Regions from separate parts of the Homo sapiens genome. Here region 1 is linked to region 2. The links are contacts of gene promoters, found by promoter capture Hi-C in blood cells and fetal thymus (Javierre and others, 2016). All regions are on one chromosome and are shown on one strand. Each heading gives the region's core, a stretch centred on a gene start or on the middle of the fragment in contact. The rest is flanking DNA. Distances are from core to core; before and after follow the strand shown. Region 1 holds the start of MAP1S (microtubule associated protein 1S). Region 2 holds the start of TMEM221 (transmembrane protein 221).

Evidence for each region. The method cuts DNA at HindIII sites, captures the fragments that hold promoters and counts their contacts. A CHiCAGO score of 5 or more calls a contact.
Region 1: a contact is called between the fragment with the promoter of MAP1S here and the fragment with the promoter of TMEM221 in region 2, in 2 of 17 cell types (megakaryocytes and endothelial precursors). The highest score is 5.6, in megakaryocytes.

Annotation. Positions count from the first base shown.
Region 1 is chr19:17,716,068-17,723,869 of GRCh38, reverse strand. It overlaps MAP1S (microtubule associated protein 1S), which reads right to left and starts at 4,390. Exons shown (of 7, transcript NM_018174.6): 1 at 4,250-4,390; 2 at 2,833-2,934. The coding sequence starts at 4,367. RefSeq lists enhancers at 3,199-3,348, 3,739-3,808, 5,859-6,360 and a silencer at 4,159-4,208. The HindIII fragment of the contact is 1,227 bases long and covers 3,396-4,622 here.
Region 2 is chr19:17,447,306-17,454,458 of GRCh38, reverse strand. TMEM221 (transmembrane protein 221) reads left to right here and starts at 5,791. Exons shown (of 3, transcript NM_001190844.2): 1 at 5,791-6,316. The coding sequence starts at 5,997. RefSeq lists a silencer at 5,658-5,777. The HindIII fragment of the contact is 12,702 bases long and covers 1-7,153 here.

The DNA.
Region 1 (7,802 bases), core at 3,141-5,640, 270 kb before region 2:
TCTTCTTTTTTTTGTGAGACGGAGTCTCGCTCTGTCGCCCAGGCTGGAGGGCAGTGGTGCAATCTCTGCTCACTGCAAGCTCCGCTCCTCCTCCCGGGTTCACGCCATTCTCCTGCCTCAGCCTCCCGAGTAGCCAGGACTACAGGTGCCCGCCACCACACCCGGCTAAGTTTTTGTATTTTTAGTAGAGACAGGGTTTCACCGTGTAAGCCAGGATAGTCTCCATATCCTGACCTCGTGATCCGCCTGCCTCGGCCTCCCAAAGTGCTGGGATTACAGGCGTGAGCCACCGCGCCCGGCCTTTTTCTTTTCTTTTTTTTTGAGACGGAGTTTTGCTCTTGTTGCCCAGGCTGGCGTGCAACAGTGCAACCTGGGCTCACTGCAACCTCCGCCTCCTGGGTTCAAGCAATTCTCCTGCCTCAGCCTCCCGAGTAGCTGGGATTACAGGCACACGCCACCACGCCCCATTAATTTTTTCAATTTTTAGTAGAGACGGGGTTTTAACATGTGGGTCAGGCTGGTCTCAAACTCCTGACCTCAGGTGATCCGCCTGCCTCGGCCTCCCAAAGTGCTGGGATTACAGACTTGACCCACTGCACCCATCCGGCCACATTTATTTTTCAGACAGAGAGCCAGAGCTCGAGGAGGGCCAATGAGGGCGAACGTGGACGAGGGTACATCCGGAGCAAAGGTCCTGAGGCAGGACTCAGCTAGGGGTGGGGCAGCATAAGGGCCGGGGCTGAAGTAGGGCTGTTTCTGGGATCCTGACCCTGCTCTGTCCCCCAGGGCCCGTATGTGTTTTAAACATCAGTACTGTGAGAGGGGGGTGGCAAGGAGCCAGAGCCGGGGTGGGGGCCGGTGAGGGCCAACCCGGACCAGGGTACAGCACCAGCCAAGGCCCCTGAGGCAGGACTGAACTGTGAACAAGGCTGAGTCTTGAGAGGCAGAGACCCTCCAGTGTTGCCAGCCCTTATCACATTTAACTTTCTTTCCTTTCTTTCCTTCTTTTCCCTTTCTCTCTCTCTCGCCCTTATCACATTTAGCTTTCTCTTTCCTTTCTCTCTCTCTCTCCCTCCCTCTCCCCCTCCCTCCCTCCCTCCCTCTCTCTCTCTCTCTTTTTTGAGATGGAATCTCCCTCTATTGCCCAGGCTGAAGTGTAGTGGCACGATCTCAGCTCACTGCAACCTCTGCCTCCTGAGTTCAAGCAATTCTCCAACCTCAGTCTCCCAAGTAGCTGGGGTTATAGGCGCTTGCCACCACAACCAGCTAATTTTTGTATTTTTAGTAGAGATGGGGTGTCACCATACTGGTCAGGCTGGTCTCGAACTCCTGACCTCAGGTGATCCACCCACCTCAGCCTTCCAAAGTGCTGGGATTATAGGTGTGAGCCACCATGTCAGGCCTAAGTTTATTTTTTTGAGACAGGGTCTCGCTCTGTTGCCCAGGCTGAAGTGCAGTGGCACAATCTTAGCTCACTGCAGCCTCTGCCTCCTGGGTAAAAGCGATCCTCCCTCCTCGGGCTCCTGAGTAGCTGGGACTACAGGTGTGCACCACCAGGTCCAGCTCATTTTTGCATTTTCAGTAGGGACAGGGTTTCACCATGTTGCCCCAGCTGGTTTTGAACTCCTGACCTCAAAAAATCCTCCCACTTTGACCTCCCAAAGTGTTGGGATTACAGGCGAGAGCCACCCCACCCAGCCTTAGCACGCTTTTTGCCACACAGGGATATTGCCCCATTCAGGTGGGGAAATCAAGGCATAAAGAAGGGAAGTGGCCACGAAGTTCACACACAGCAGACAGGATTTCCAGCTCCACTTTCTGCCCCATGAAGTGTCAGGAAGCCACAAGGACCAACTGGGACAATGAGACTACAGACACTTCCTTCCTCTCCAGCAGCAGCCGGGAGGTGACTCAAGAGACCATCAGGAGCCGGGGGCGGCTGCAGGCAACACCCAAGCCCTGCCTGCCCGCCTGCTGCTCTGCTCACCCTGGGTCACCCTAGAAGGGAGCCTCGTGCTGAGTTGGGCCCTTCTTGATCTCACTCCTTTTCAGTTCCCTGCCTACTGTATACCCAGGCCTGTGGCTGTGAACCAGTATCAGTCCCTTCCTGCAAGGGGCCCACACTCCATCTTCCAGGGCCTGCTCAGTGCCCCTCCACCTTCCAGATGTTTTTTGTTTGTTTGTTTGTTCTGAGACAGAGTCCCTCCCACTCTGTCACTCAGGCAGGAGTGCAGTGGCGCAGTCTCAGCCCCACTGTAACCTCTGCCTCCTGGGTTCATGTGATCCTCCCACCTCAGCCTCCCGAGTAGCTGGGATTAGAGGCGCCTGCCACCATGCCGTTATTTTTGTATTCTTAGTAGAGACAGGGTTCCTCCACGTTGGCCAGGCTAGTCTCCAACTCCTGACCTCAAGTGATCCGCCCGCTGCGGCCTCCCAAAGTGCTGAGATCAGAGGCGTAAGCCACCGCGCCCGGTTCATTCTAGATGTTCTGTCCACTGCTGGGTCTTGACTGGGGCCCTTCCCTTCCACTGGACACACCAGTCATAGCAGTTTCTCATCAAAAAACCCCCTCCTCAGAGATCTCCCTGCCTCTTCCCCCTTCAATGCCAATTTCCTCATCTGTCAATCAGGGACAAAAACACCAGTTCCTGCACTGTGGGTTGCTGAGGACTGAGGGGGTTATCACTGGGTCACGGCTTGCATTTGAAAGGTCTCAACTGTATTATTACTGTTGTTATTTATAGCTGCATCCCACCCCCCATGCCTGGCACACGGCTGGCACTTCCCCAAATAACAAGAGGTAGGGAGCAGTCAGGGGGACCCCAGCCTCACCTTTCACAATGCTGGAGAAGGTGGCAGAGTGTCGGGACACAAAGACCTTGAGCTGTTCATCAAGGTTGCAGACGCCAGGATCGACATCCCAAGACCGGATGCCTGGTGGGAAGGAGGGATCAAGGCGGGAGTTCAGCCGGGCCCCCCAGCTCCCAGAATATTTCAATAATTAGCACCCCGTGGGTGGGGAGCGCCCCAGCCTCCTCCCTTCACTCACAGCTTGGAGACTCAGAAGTACCCAACACCTTCAGGTCTCGCTGCAGCTGAGCCAGGGGACCCAGAGCACACCTCATCATTTTACACACAAGATTCATCAGCAACAAAGCCTCCACCTCCTCCATCTCCACCTCCTCGCTGCTCCTATGCCCTGCCAGACCCGTTTCCACTCACCGCCCTTGCAACAGCTGTTTCCCCTGCCTGGAAGTCCATCCCCCTGCCGCCCCCACCTGTTCCTACTGGCCAGGGGGCCCTTCCCCCTCAGCACCTTCGGGTGCTAAGACTGACTGTCCTCTCAGTCCCTTGCAGCCTTCTCATCCTTCCTGACACCATGTGAGCTGGAAGCTTGTTCCATCTCCTCACTCGCTTTGGGTCCATCCCCAAACCAGACCTGTGTTGGCAGGGCTGAACCTGTCTATCATCCCGGCCATATCCCTGTGTCCACTGCCCAAAGGCCTGGCGCATAGCAGGTGCTCACTAAACACTCCTCAAGCACATGAACCGAGGTGCGTGTTCCTGTCCCATTTTACATGCAATGAAACGCCAGGTCCAGATGCTCCGAGGGATGGGGGATGAACACCCATCTCCACCCACGGGCGCATCACGCCCGCCAGTCCCACTGAGCCAAGTGGCTGCAGGTGAACCTGGCAGGTGCGCCTATGACTCACCTCCCTAGGTGCCAAATCCCCAGGGCAGGCCGCACCCGCCCACACCCCAATTAGCAGCTCCTTGTGAGGCAACAGAAAGCGGGCCCCGGGGCTCCAGGCCCAGCCTCCCCCATATCTGCTTCTCCCTCCGGGAGATCTCTATCTAAGCTGCTAAGACCTGGAGATCCAAAGCGACCCCAGGCCCTACCCCCGGGCAGGCCAGTCAGGCGGGAAGCGGAGCCGTGGTCCAACTGCAAGGGTCCCCAAGCCCAGGCCCGTGTCCCCTCCCCTATCTTCACCCGGAGTTGGGGCGGGGCAGCCCTGCCCAGCCCAGGCCCGGATGCCACTTTCTCCGCGGGCACCCACGGGCACCCCGCCTTTGCCCGCGTCGTGCGCCTAACGGTGAAGGGGACCCAGCCCCAGGCCCGCGACCCCCGCCCCGGAGCCCGGGTCCCGCCGCCGCCGCCGCCGCCGCCCCACCCCGCCGGCCCCGGGCCCAGACGCGCGAACGGGCCCGCCTCCCGGGCTCCCGCGGGCCCCCAGGCCAGCCCGACCTCTTTCGAGCTCCTCCAGGACGTAGGTGAGGAGCCCCGGGCTCCCGAACTCGCTGCCCACCACGAGGAGCAGTGAGCTCGGAGCCGCGGCAGCCCCAGATCCAGCCACCGCCGCCATCTTCGGGCCGCCCCGGCGTTCTCGGCGCCCGCCCCGCAGGCCCCGCCTCTTAAAGGGGCCGCACCGGAAGGGCTGAAGACCCCGCCCGGAACCACCGCATCCCCGCCCCTTTTTGTCGACCACTTACAGGCCCTTTGAGGTCGTGGAGAGCAGGGGATGCGGGCGTTAAAGGGGTTGGCCGACTCCTGGGTGTCCGCTTGGGAGCCGCCTCTCCCAAGTGACCATTCATTCATTTTTTTTTTCATTGAACAAGCTTTGATTGCGTGCCTGCTGCATGTAGGTCAGAACTCCTGCCCTCCAGGAACTCACATCACATGACAGTAGGCCGCATCAGAACCCGGTGCCTATGGATGCTCCCAGCTCTCTAGGTCAGGGCTTGAACAGAGAAAAGAAATCTATCTTGTAGGTAGGGCTTTAAGGGATGTGTAGGAGTTTGCCTTGTGGGTGGTGGGGCAAGAGCTGGTGAGGCAGAAGTTTACAGCAGGTGCAAAGTTTTAGAGGTAAGAAAGTACATGTGTGTTTGGGACACAACCGGAGCACTCTGGGCCTGCCTGGAACAGGGCAACACTTATTCTGCACCTCCTGTGCGCCAGGTATTTTATTGCATTAGCTCATTACATACAAGCACAAAGCGATGAGTTTTGTGCTTGTATGTAGGCACAGATGAGTAGGCACAGTTACTGTGGTCACTTTCAGAGGAAAGAAGAGGAAACTGAGATTTGGAGGGATGAAGTCACCAGGCCTGTAAGTGGTAGAGCAGGTTTGAACCCAAGTGGGTCTTACTCTAGATCCAGCCTGTGCAAGGGACTGCCTGCGTTGCGCACATGGGTACCTCTCTCTCCCCAGATAATCCTCTTTAGGCTTTTCTTTCCTTTCCTCCCCTCTCTTCTCCTCTCCTCCCCTCCCCTCCTCTCCTCTTCTCCCCTCCCCTCCCCTTCTCTCCCCTCTCCTCTCCTCTCCTCCCCTCCCCTCCCTTCCTCTCCCTCCCCTCCCCTCCCCTCCTCTCCCCTCTCCTCTCCTCTCCTTTCCTTTTCTTGAGATGGAGTCTCATTCTGCCGCCCAGGCTGGAGTGCAATGGCACAATCTCAGCTCACTGCAACCTCTGCCTCCCGGGTTCAAGCGATTCCCTTGCCTCAGCCTCCCAAGTAGCGGGATTATAGGTGTCCGCCACCATGCCCTGCTAATTTTTGTATTTTAGTAGAGATGAGGTTTCTTTTCTTTTCTTTTCTTTTCTTTTCTTTTCTTTTCTTTTCTTTTCTTTTCTTTTAGAGACAGAGTCTCGCTCTGTCGCCCAGGCTGAAGGGTAGTGGCGCGATCTCGGCTCACTGCAAGCTCCACCTCCCAGGTTCATGCCATTCTCCTGCCTCAGCCTCCCGAGTAGCTGGGACTACAGGCGCCCGCCACTGTGCCCAGCTAATTTTTTGTATTTTCAGTAGAGACGGGGTTTCACCGTGGTCTCGATCTCCTGACCTCGTGATCTGCCTGCCTCGGCCTCCCAAAGTGCTGGGATTACAGGCGTGAGCCACCGTGCCCGGCAGAGATGGGGTTTCACCATGTTGGCCAGGCTGGTCTCGAACTCCTGACCTCAAGTGATCCTCCTGCCTTGGCCTCCCAAAGTGCTGGGATTACAGGCGTGAGCCGCCGCGCCTGGCCCCCTTTAGCCCTTTGACCCATAGGGGCTACTACTTGACAAATCATCTTGCTTGGAACTTCTGGACAGTGGTCCATGCCCAGGAAACATTGAACCTCCTTTCTCAGGAGTGAGCTCCCTGTCTCCGGGAGTATGCAAAGAAAAGCAGAACAGAAATGGGAAAGATCTGGGAAGGCGAATCAGCCTCCCGCTGCCGTTTATTATCTAGGTTGTTCAGCCCAACTTCCTCCCTGGCCAGTGTGTAACAGCCACTGGCCACGTGCCGTCTACCATTCTTGCACTCCACTTCCTCTCTCTCTTTTTGGTTCTGGCATCCTTCCTCTATCCTTGTCCCTCCCCCTTGGCTCCCTTCCCTGTGTCTCGCCTGCCTGTGATTTCTTCTGTTATTGCTGTGAGCAGTAATAGTAGTGGGAGTGTCTGTGTCGGGCACTATCTCCCCTATAAGGCTGGAAACTTTTGGAAGCCTGAGGCCTCTCTGGGGCCCTGGCCTTGTGCAACACAAGGCTTGGGCATCTGAGAAGGGATATGATAAAGTCTTTTGGAATGGGCTGAAAGGCCTATTTGTCCACTATTCCTTCCTTCCTTCCTTCCTTGTGTATTTATGGATGGGTCCAGGATTCGAACCCAGGAGCTTCTGAATGGAAGTCTATCCACTTCCTTCTGCCCACGCTGTGAATTATGATTGTTGGTACTAATTCTTTTTTTTCTTTCTTTTTTTTTTTTTTGAGACGGATTCTCACTCTGTCGCCCTTGCCAGAATCATTCTGAGAGAGAGAGAGAGAGTCTTGTTCTGTCAAGCAGGCTAGGTTGGAGCACAGTGGTGTAACCTCGGCTCACTGCAAGCTCCGCCTCCCGGGTTCAAGGGATTCTCCTGCCTCAGCCTCCTGAGTAGCTGGGATTACGGTACCCACCACCATGCCTGGCTAATTTTTGTATTTTTAGTAGAGACATGGGGTTTCACCATGTTGGCCAGGATGGTCTCGAACTCCTGACTTCAAGTAATCTGCCCCACTTGGCCTCCCAAAGTGCTGAGATTATAGGTATGGGCCACTGCACCGGCCTGTTGGTATTAATTCTATTACTAGTTGGTCTTACAGGGCCTGAAGAAATGTCTCCACTAGGGGGATCTGATTTGGGGATGAAGGTCTCCCCCATTAGGTTTTTGGGAGATAATGTCCTGAGTACTTGGAGCCATGAGGTCTTCCTGTCCCAAAGCATTTCCCAAGCTTGAGGACTCTGGTGTGGGACATGTGGGGTGCATTTCCCTAGAAACTGAGAAGCCTCTGAGACCACTGCTCAAATCCCAGGCATGGGACTCTGGTCTCTGGTTTCTGGCCCAGCTCCATGACTGTTTCAAGGTCACCATCCCCAGAGGCGTCAGATGATGGCATTTGTGGGGAAAACGGAACCCTGAGCCCTCAGGACTGCTGGATATTCTCATCTTCTCCTGGCAATTATTTTCTTATTTTAACAGTTTTGTTGAGGTTTAATATAGACATGGTCAGGCTGGGTGTAGTAGCTCACACCTGTAATCCCAATATTTTGGGAGGCTGAGACAGGCGGATCACTTGAGGTCAGGAGTTTGAGACCAGCCCGGCCAACATGGTGAAACTCCGTCTCTACTAAAAATACAAAAATTAGCCAGGTGTGGTTGTGGGCTATTCAGGAGGCTGAGGTGGGAGGATCACTTGAGTCTGGGCTGTGGAGATTGCAGCGAGCTGAGATCACGCCACTGCACTCCAACCCAGCCTGCTTGACAGAATGAGTCTCTCTCTCTCTCTCTC
Region 2 (7,153 bases), core at 4,542-7,041:
GCCAGGAGATAAAGTAGGGAGAGCTTTTCAAGGATCTCTATAAATATTTCTGAGACCTGGCTGAGGGGGAGTAATTAATGGCTCCAAAAATGAGAAAATCTAAACTAAAATAGAACAAACGTGCTGAAAACGCCAAGCCCATCCTACATTAAATGAGTTGCCCCCCCCCTTTTTTTTTTTTTGAGACGGAGTTTGGCTCTTGTTGCCCAGGCTGGAGTGCAATGGCACGATCTCGGCTCACCGCAACCTCTGCCTCCCGGGTTGAAGCGATTCTCCTGCCTCAGCCTCCCAAGTAGCTGGGATTACAGGCATACCACCACACCTGACTAATTTTTGTATTTTTAGTAGAGACGGAGTTTCTTCATGTTGGTCAGGCTGGTCTCGAACTCCCGATCTCAGGTGATCTGCCTGCCTCGGCCTCCCAAAGTGCTGGGATTACAGGCGTGAGCCATCGCGTCCGGCCGAGTTGCCCACATATTTCATGCGCAAAATCACAACAATCCTTTAACAACAGATTTATATGTTACACGGATGCATTTCAATATTTGATACCACGTGGGCTGGGGGTCCCGGGCTGCCAGCAGGAGCCAAGAGTCTCCCAGGTCTCCCTCTGTTGCTCGTGGACTGGGGCATTACCAGGGAACACGGCAGAATACAGAAATCAAAAACTCCGATCTAGAACCATCTCCTGGCTTTGTGACCGTGAGATCAACTCCCTTCTCTAAACACTAATCCCTTCCTCTGAAAAATTAGAATTAAAGCCAGGTTCTCCCAGGCAGGTCAGTGAAGAAGGAGGAGCAGGTGCTCACTCGGCTCACGAACTGCTTGGTTGGCCTCTGGCGCCCCCTCGCGGCAGGACGAGATGGCACACTTTCGGGGCAGGGCCTAGCATTCAAATGAGATGCAAATCACTCCTCTCGTGCCCAGTCTCCGGAAAAGGTTTCCTAGGAGTCCACGCGTGTCCATGGAAACTAGCAAGCGTGACTGCGGTGCACGGGAATCTGGCTGACAGGAAGAAGGAGGCTGGGGGCCTGGGAGGCCAGAGGGTCCTGAATACTGGATGACCACCTGATTTCATGCTCACCTCGACTTCCAACCTCCAGGTTGGAAAATTGACCCAGCTCAGGACCCTGGTGCTGCCTGATGCTTCATGTTCCAGCAGCCCTCTCTGGACTGCTGTGGCGCATCTGTGAAATGGGTGCATTGAGTCTGGGCGTGGTGGCTCACTCCTGTAATCCCAACACTTTGGGAGGCCGAGGCAAGTGGATCACCTGAGGTCAGGAGTTCAAGACCAGCCTGGCCACTGTCACAAAACCCCGTCTCTACTAAAAAAAAAAAAAAAATATATATATATATATATATATATATAAATTAGCTGGCGTGGTGGCACGCACCTGTAGTCCCAGCTACTCAGGAGGCTGAGGCATGAGAATCACTTGAACCTGGGAGGCGGAGGTTGCAGTCTGCCAAGATTGCACCCCTGCACTCCAGCCTGGGCGACACAGGGAGACTCTGTCTCAAAAAAATAAAAATCACTTAAATTATCTGTAAATCATACCAGGTTGCCCTTTTCCAACAAATCACAGGCGATGTAACCTGTCAACATTGTTACTATTATTCCAGCCAACATGCAGTGACCAGCCATCCGTATCTGGGCAGTGAGGTTGAGGGAGTCCACTCTCTGTCCCTGTCAGGCTGTGTGCCTTGGACTGTATGGTGGAACTCTCCAAGCCTCACCCCCCATCCCCACCTCCCCACTCCCCACCTGTCTGAGCTGGAATGAGAAGGGCAGCTTAGCAAAAGGCCAAGGTAGATGAGCTCACCATCTACCAAGAGCAGTGTGGGGCCTGCTTGCAGGGTTAACTTTCCAAGTTGAAGCCAGACACCCCCAAACTAGAGAATCACCCCACATACAAACAGCAGGACCAGACCTTGGTATCTGTGTTCCCCCAACCCCAACAAATAATGGCAAAACCTAAGCCAGCACTGCAATGAATGTTGGCCATTTAGGTAAGTGTCCCCTTATTGTGGGGTTTCATGTATGTTTCCACCTCCCCCACCAGGCTGTGAGCACCAGAAGGGAGAGCTGGGCCTGTCTTGGTCACCCCTGGGTCCTCAGAGCCCAGCACGTAGATGGGCTCTCCACTGATGTTCGTCGAATGAATACATGAAAATATCTTGTATCTCTGTATTCCCACCACCCAGAGCAAACTGTAGCCCTGATCCAAATGAATTGCTGAGCCCTCAACGTGAGACTTTTCCTTACCTGGAAAACATGGAAAATTCACCCTAACACTGATGATGATGAAAGAATGAGTGTTGGGCTGAGGCCTGATGAATGAGTGAATGAATCAATCAATCGATCAATCAATTGAAAGAAGGAACAGGTTCTTGCTACATATGAAGAGGCCCAGAGAGGTTAAGGGATGTGCCCAAAGTCACACAGCAAAGAAGGAGGCCACCTGGAAGTGAAGGGTCACCCTCACCCCATACTCTTCCTTGGGGCCATTTTACCTACGAGGCTGAGGGCACAGGGCCCACAAACTCTTTTCAAGGGGCCCCAAAATTTTCAAACCTGAAAAAAAAACTTGATTCCAGTCCAGGCGCAGTGGCTCATGCCTGTAATCCCAGCACTTTGGGAGGCCCAGTGGGTGGATCAGTTGAGCTTAAGAGTTCCAGATGAGCCTGGACAACATAGTAAGACCCCATCGCTACAAAAAAATTAATTAATTAATTTAAAATAGAGAAAGGATTTGAATAGACATTTCTCCAAAGAAGATATATGAACAGCCAAAAAGCCCATGAAAAGATGCTTAACATCATTAGTTATTAGGGAAATGCAAATAAAAACCACAATGAGATATTACTTTATAAGCATCAGAATGACTATTATCAGGGAGGAGGAGGCTGGGTGTGGTGGCTCACTCTGTAATCCCCCAGCACTTCAGGAGGCTGAGGTGAGAGGATCACTTGGGCATAAGAAGTTTGAGACAAGACCAACATAGCAAGACCCCATCTCTACAAAAAAATTTTAAAAACTGGCTGGGTATGGTGGCTCACACCTGTAATTCCAACACTCTGGGAGGCCGAGGTGGGAGGATCACTTGAGGCAGGAGTTTGAGACCAGCCTGGCCAACATGGTGAAACCCTGTTTCTACTAAAAATACAAAAATTAGCTGAGTGTGGTGGTAGGCACCTGTAATCCTGCTACTTGGGAAGCTGAGGTGCAAGAATCGCTTGAACCCGGGAGGTGGAGGTTGCAGTGAGCCGAGATCTCACCACTGCACTCCAGTCTGGGCAACAGAGTGAGAGTTCATCTCAAAAAAAAAAAAAAAAAAAAAGGCTATTATGAGGAAGGAGGAGGCTGGGTGTGGTGGCTCACTCCTGTAATCCCAGCATTTAGGGGGACTGAGGTGAGAGAATCACTTGGGTATAAAGAGTTTGAGACCAGACCAACATAACAAGACCCCATCTCTATGAAAAAAAAAAAAAAACTTAAAAATTAGCCAGGCATGCTGATGCTTGCCTGTGGTCCCAGCTACTTGGGGAGAGGCTGAGGCAGAAAGATCACTTGAGCAGGAGGTCAAGGCTGTAATGAGCTATGATCACACCACTGCAATCCAGCCTGGGTGACAGAGCAAGGCCCTGATAAAAAAAAAAAGAAGAAGGAGGAGGAGGAGACGAGGAGGAGGAAGAAAGGAGGAGGAGGAGAAGGAAGGGAGGAGGAGGAGGAGAAGGAAGAGGAGGAGGAGGAGGGCAGGAGGAAACACGTGTTGGGGAGGATGTGCAGAAAATTATTTTTAAAAACCTCAGACATTGCTGGTGGAAATGGAAAACGGTGCAGCTGCTGTGGAAAAGTTTGAGGGTTCCACAAAGAGTTAAAATAGAGTAACTATGTGACTCAGCAACTCCACTCCTAGGAGTCCACGCCCCACAAGAATTGACAGCAGTGACTCAAGAAGATACCTGTGCACACATGTTTATAGCAGCATTAGTCACCTTCACCAAAAGGAACCAACAACACAAATACCCATCAATGGATGAACGGATGAACACAATGTGTTCCAGACACGCTATGGAATATTACGCAGCCATAAAAAGGAATGAGGCACTGATCCATGCTACAACCTCGATGAACCTTGAGTACATCATGCAGAGTGAGAGAAGCCAGAATGCCACCTCTTGTATGACTCCATTGATATGAAGTGTCCAGAACAGGCAAATCGACAGAGACAAGAAGTAGATTAATGGTTGTGAGCCACTTGAGGAGGGGGAATGGGGAGTGGCTGGTAATGGGGATGGGGTCTCCTTTTGGGGGGATGAAAATCTTCTGGAGCTAGACAGAGGTAATGATTGTACAACACTAAATGCCACTGAATAAAATGATTAATTTTATGTTATGTAAGTTTCATCTCGATTTTTTTAAAGTGCTGTGCGAATAATTTGGGGGACCAGTTGGGGAAGGGATCCAGGATTCTCCCTAGCCTCCTAGAGGAAGCAACGGTTACCCAAAGGCTTGAAGGAAGTAAGCAGAGGGGAAATCACAGCCAATGACAGAGTCCCTGGGTTGAGATCAAATGAAAAGTGAATTTTTAAATTTTGTTATTTCTTTTTTGAGACACAGCCTCGCTCTGTCACTCAGGCTGGAGTGCAGTGGCGTGATCTCAGTTCACTGCAGCCTCGACCTCCTGGGCTCAAGCGATCCTCCTGTCTCAGTCCCGAAAGTAGCTGGGTCCACAGGCGTGCACCACCACACCAGGCTGACTTCCTTATTTTTTGTAGAGATGGGGTCTGGCTATGTTGCCCAGGCTGGTCTCAAACTCCTGGGCTTAAGCCATCCTCCTGCCTCAGCCTCCCAAAGTGCTGGGATTACAGTTGTGAACCACCTCACCCAGCCCTTTCTCTCTCTCTCTCTTTTTTTTTTTTTTTTTTTTTGATGGAGTCTTACTCTGTCAGCCAGGCTGGAGTGTGCAGTGGTGCAATCTCGGCTCACTGCAACCTCCGCCTCCCTGATTCAAGCATTCCTCCAACCTCAGCCTCCCGAGTAGCTAGGATTACAGGCCATGCACCACTACGCCGGGCTAATTTTTTTTTTTTTTTTTTTTTTTAGTAGAGACGGGGGTTTCACCATGTTGGCCAGGCTGGTCTTGAACTCCTGACCTCAAGTGATCCGCCCACCTCGGACTCCTAAAGTGCTGAGATTACAAGCGAGAGCCACCGCGCCCGGCCTCCTTTCTCTTTATTTTTTATTTTTTAATTAATTAATTAATTAATTTTGAGACGGAGTCTCGCTCTGTCGCCCAGGCTGCAGTGCAATGGCGTAATCTCAGCTCACTGAAACCTCCGCCTCCTGGGTTCAAGCAATTCTCCTGCATCAGCCTCCCGAGTAGCTGGGATTACAGGCTCCGGCCACCACGCCCGGCTAATTTTTGTATTTTTAGTAGAGACGGGGTTTCACCATATTGGCCAGGCTGGTCTGGAACTCTTGACCTTGTGATCCGCCCGCCTCGGCCTCCCAAGGTGCTGGGATTACAGGCGAGAGCCACCGCCCCCGGCCTCCTTTTTCTTGTTTTAAACCACAATACAATCGATGCTTAGGGCGGCAGGGGGCGGGGTGGTGCCCTTTTCTGAACTTAGCGAGCTGTGGGGTTCCCGCGATCCAGTCCCTAGTGGGGCCTCCCCGCCCTGCGCCCGGTGCCAGGCCCCGCCCCGCCAGGCCCAGCGGACCAAGAGGGGGCGCCCGCGGGGCCCCGGGAGGGAGGAGAAAAGACTTTGTCCCAAGTTTTCGCGGAGATTCGGCGTCCCGGCTGCGACCAGCACCCCGGAGCCCCCGTCCGTCTGGCGACCCCCAGCCCAGTCCCCGAACTTTCAGACACTCCCTGCGGCCCCGCCCCCTCGGGGACCCCCTGAGGACCCTCGGATTCCCCCCAACTCCCCTGCCCTCTAAAACCACTTCAATTCCTCAACTCTTCCCCCGGCCCGCAGGAACCCCCGCCATGGCCCGTTCTTACGGCGGCCGGGTGCTGGCTGCAATGACCCTGCTGGGCATCGCGGCGGCCGTGCTGGCGGCGCTGGGCGCGCAGCTGCTGTTTCAGCTGCAGGCGGGCCGCGCCGAGCTGCGGGGGCTGCGCGCCGAGGGGCTGGGCCAGGAGCTGGGCGCCGGCCCCGGGCTGCCAGAGGACGCGGCCGGGACGCTGCTGCCGCTGGCCGCCGCGCTGGCCGCGCTGGTGCTCGTGCTGGGGTTCACCTGCTTGCTGCTCGCCGCGCTCTGTGGCCACCTGGGCGCCGAGCTGGCGCGGGGGCCTGGCCCCAGGAGGTAGGAGGACTGGCCTCACCGCCTCGGAGGCCCGGCTGGGGGCTGGGTGAGCCTGGTTGAGCCTCTTCCCCTCTTTTGGCCTCAGGCTGGGGGGACAGCTTCCCTCCCCACTTCCCTCTCCCCACCACTCCATGTCTCTCTGCCTCCCTCCTTTCCTCTCCTCCTCCCTCCTTCCCTCCCTCCATTCTATATTTGTTCAATTTTGCAGCAGGTGCAACCACTGCTGTGTCTCGCATTTTGCAGATGAGGAAACTGAGGCTCAAAGAGGGTCCAGGATCAGCTTGCCTGGATCTCAAACAGGGGAGGCTGAGCTCTCAGGCTGTCTGGCTTGGAAGTGGGTGGGAGGCGGGACAGTGCTGGACTTGAACTTGGTTCTGGGTAGAGCCAGCCAGAGCCTGTGTCCTGGTCTGAAATTGAGTTCCTTCCTCAGGGACCTGAACTCAGTCAGGGATGTGGTCATTGAGGGACCCCTATCAGGGGCAGTGGTTGTGGAAGGAGGAACCCTCCTTGAGCTGAGGACTCCGCTGTCCCACATGGTAGTGTTTCTCTCCAGAATGTCGGGGGAGAGGAGCCCAAATTCTAGTCCAGAATTCTGTGAAATTGAGCAGATGAGAACTCCCACCATTGAGGTAGATCCTATCCAGACCATGCACCTTCCACCCAAGGGACAATGAAATGCATGGGTCCCACGGGTCAGCAAACATCTGTTGGGTGCCTGCCTGCAGGGGAATGGATCTGGCTCAGGGCATCAGAGACAGCGGGGACCAAGTGGACCCAGACCTGCTCTCATGGGGTCACAGAAAATAAGGAAACATAACAAGGACAAGGCATGGTGGT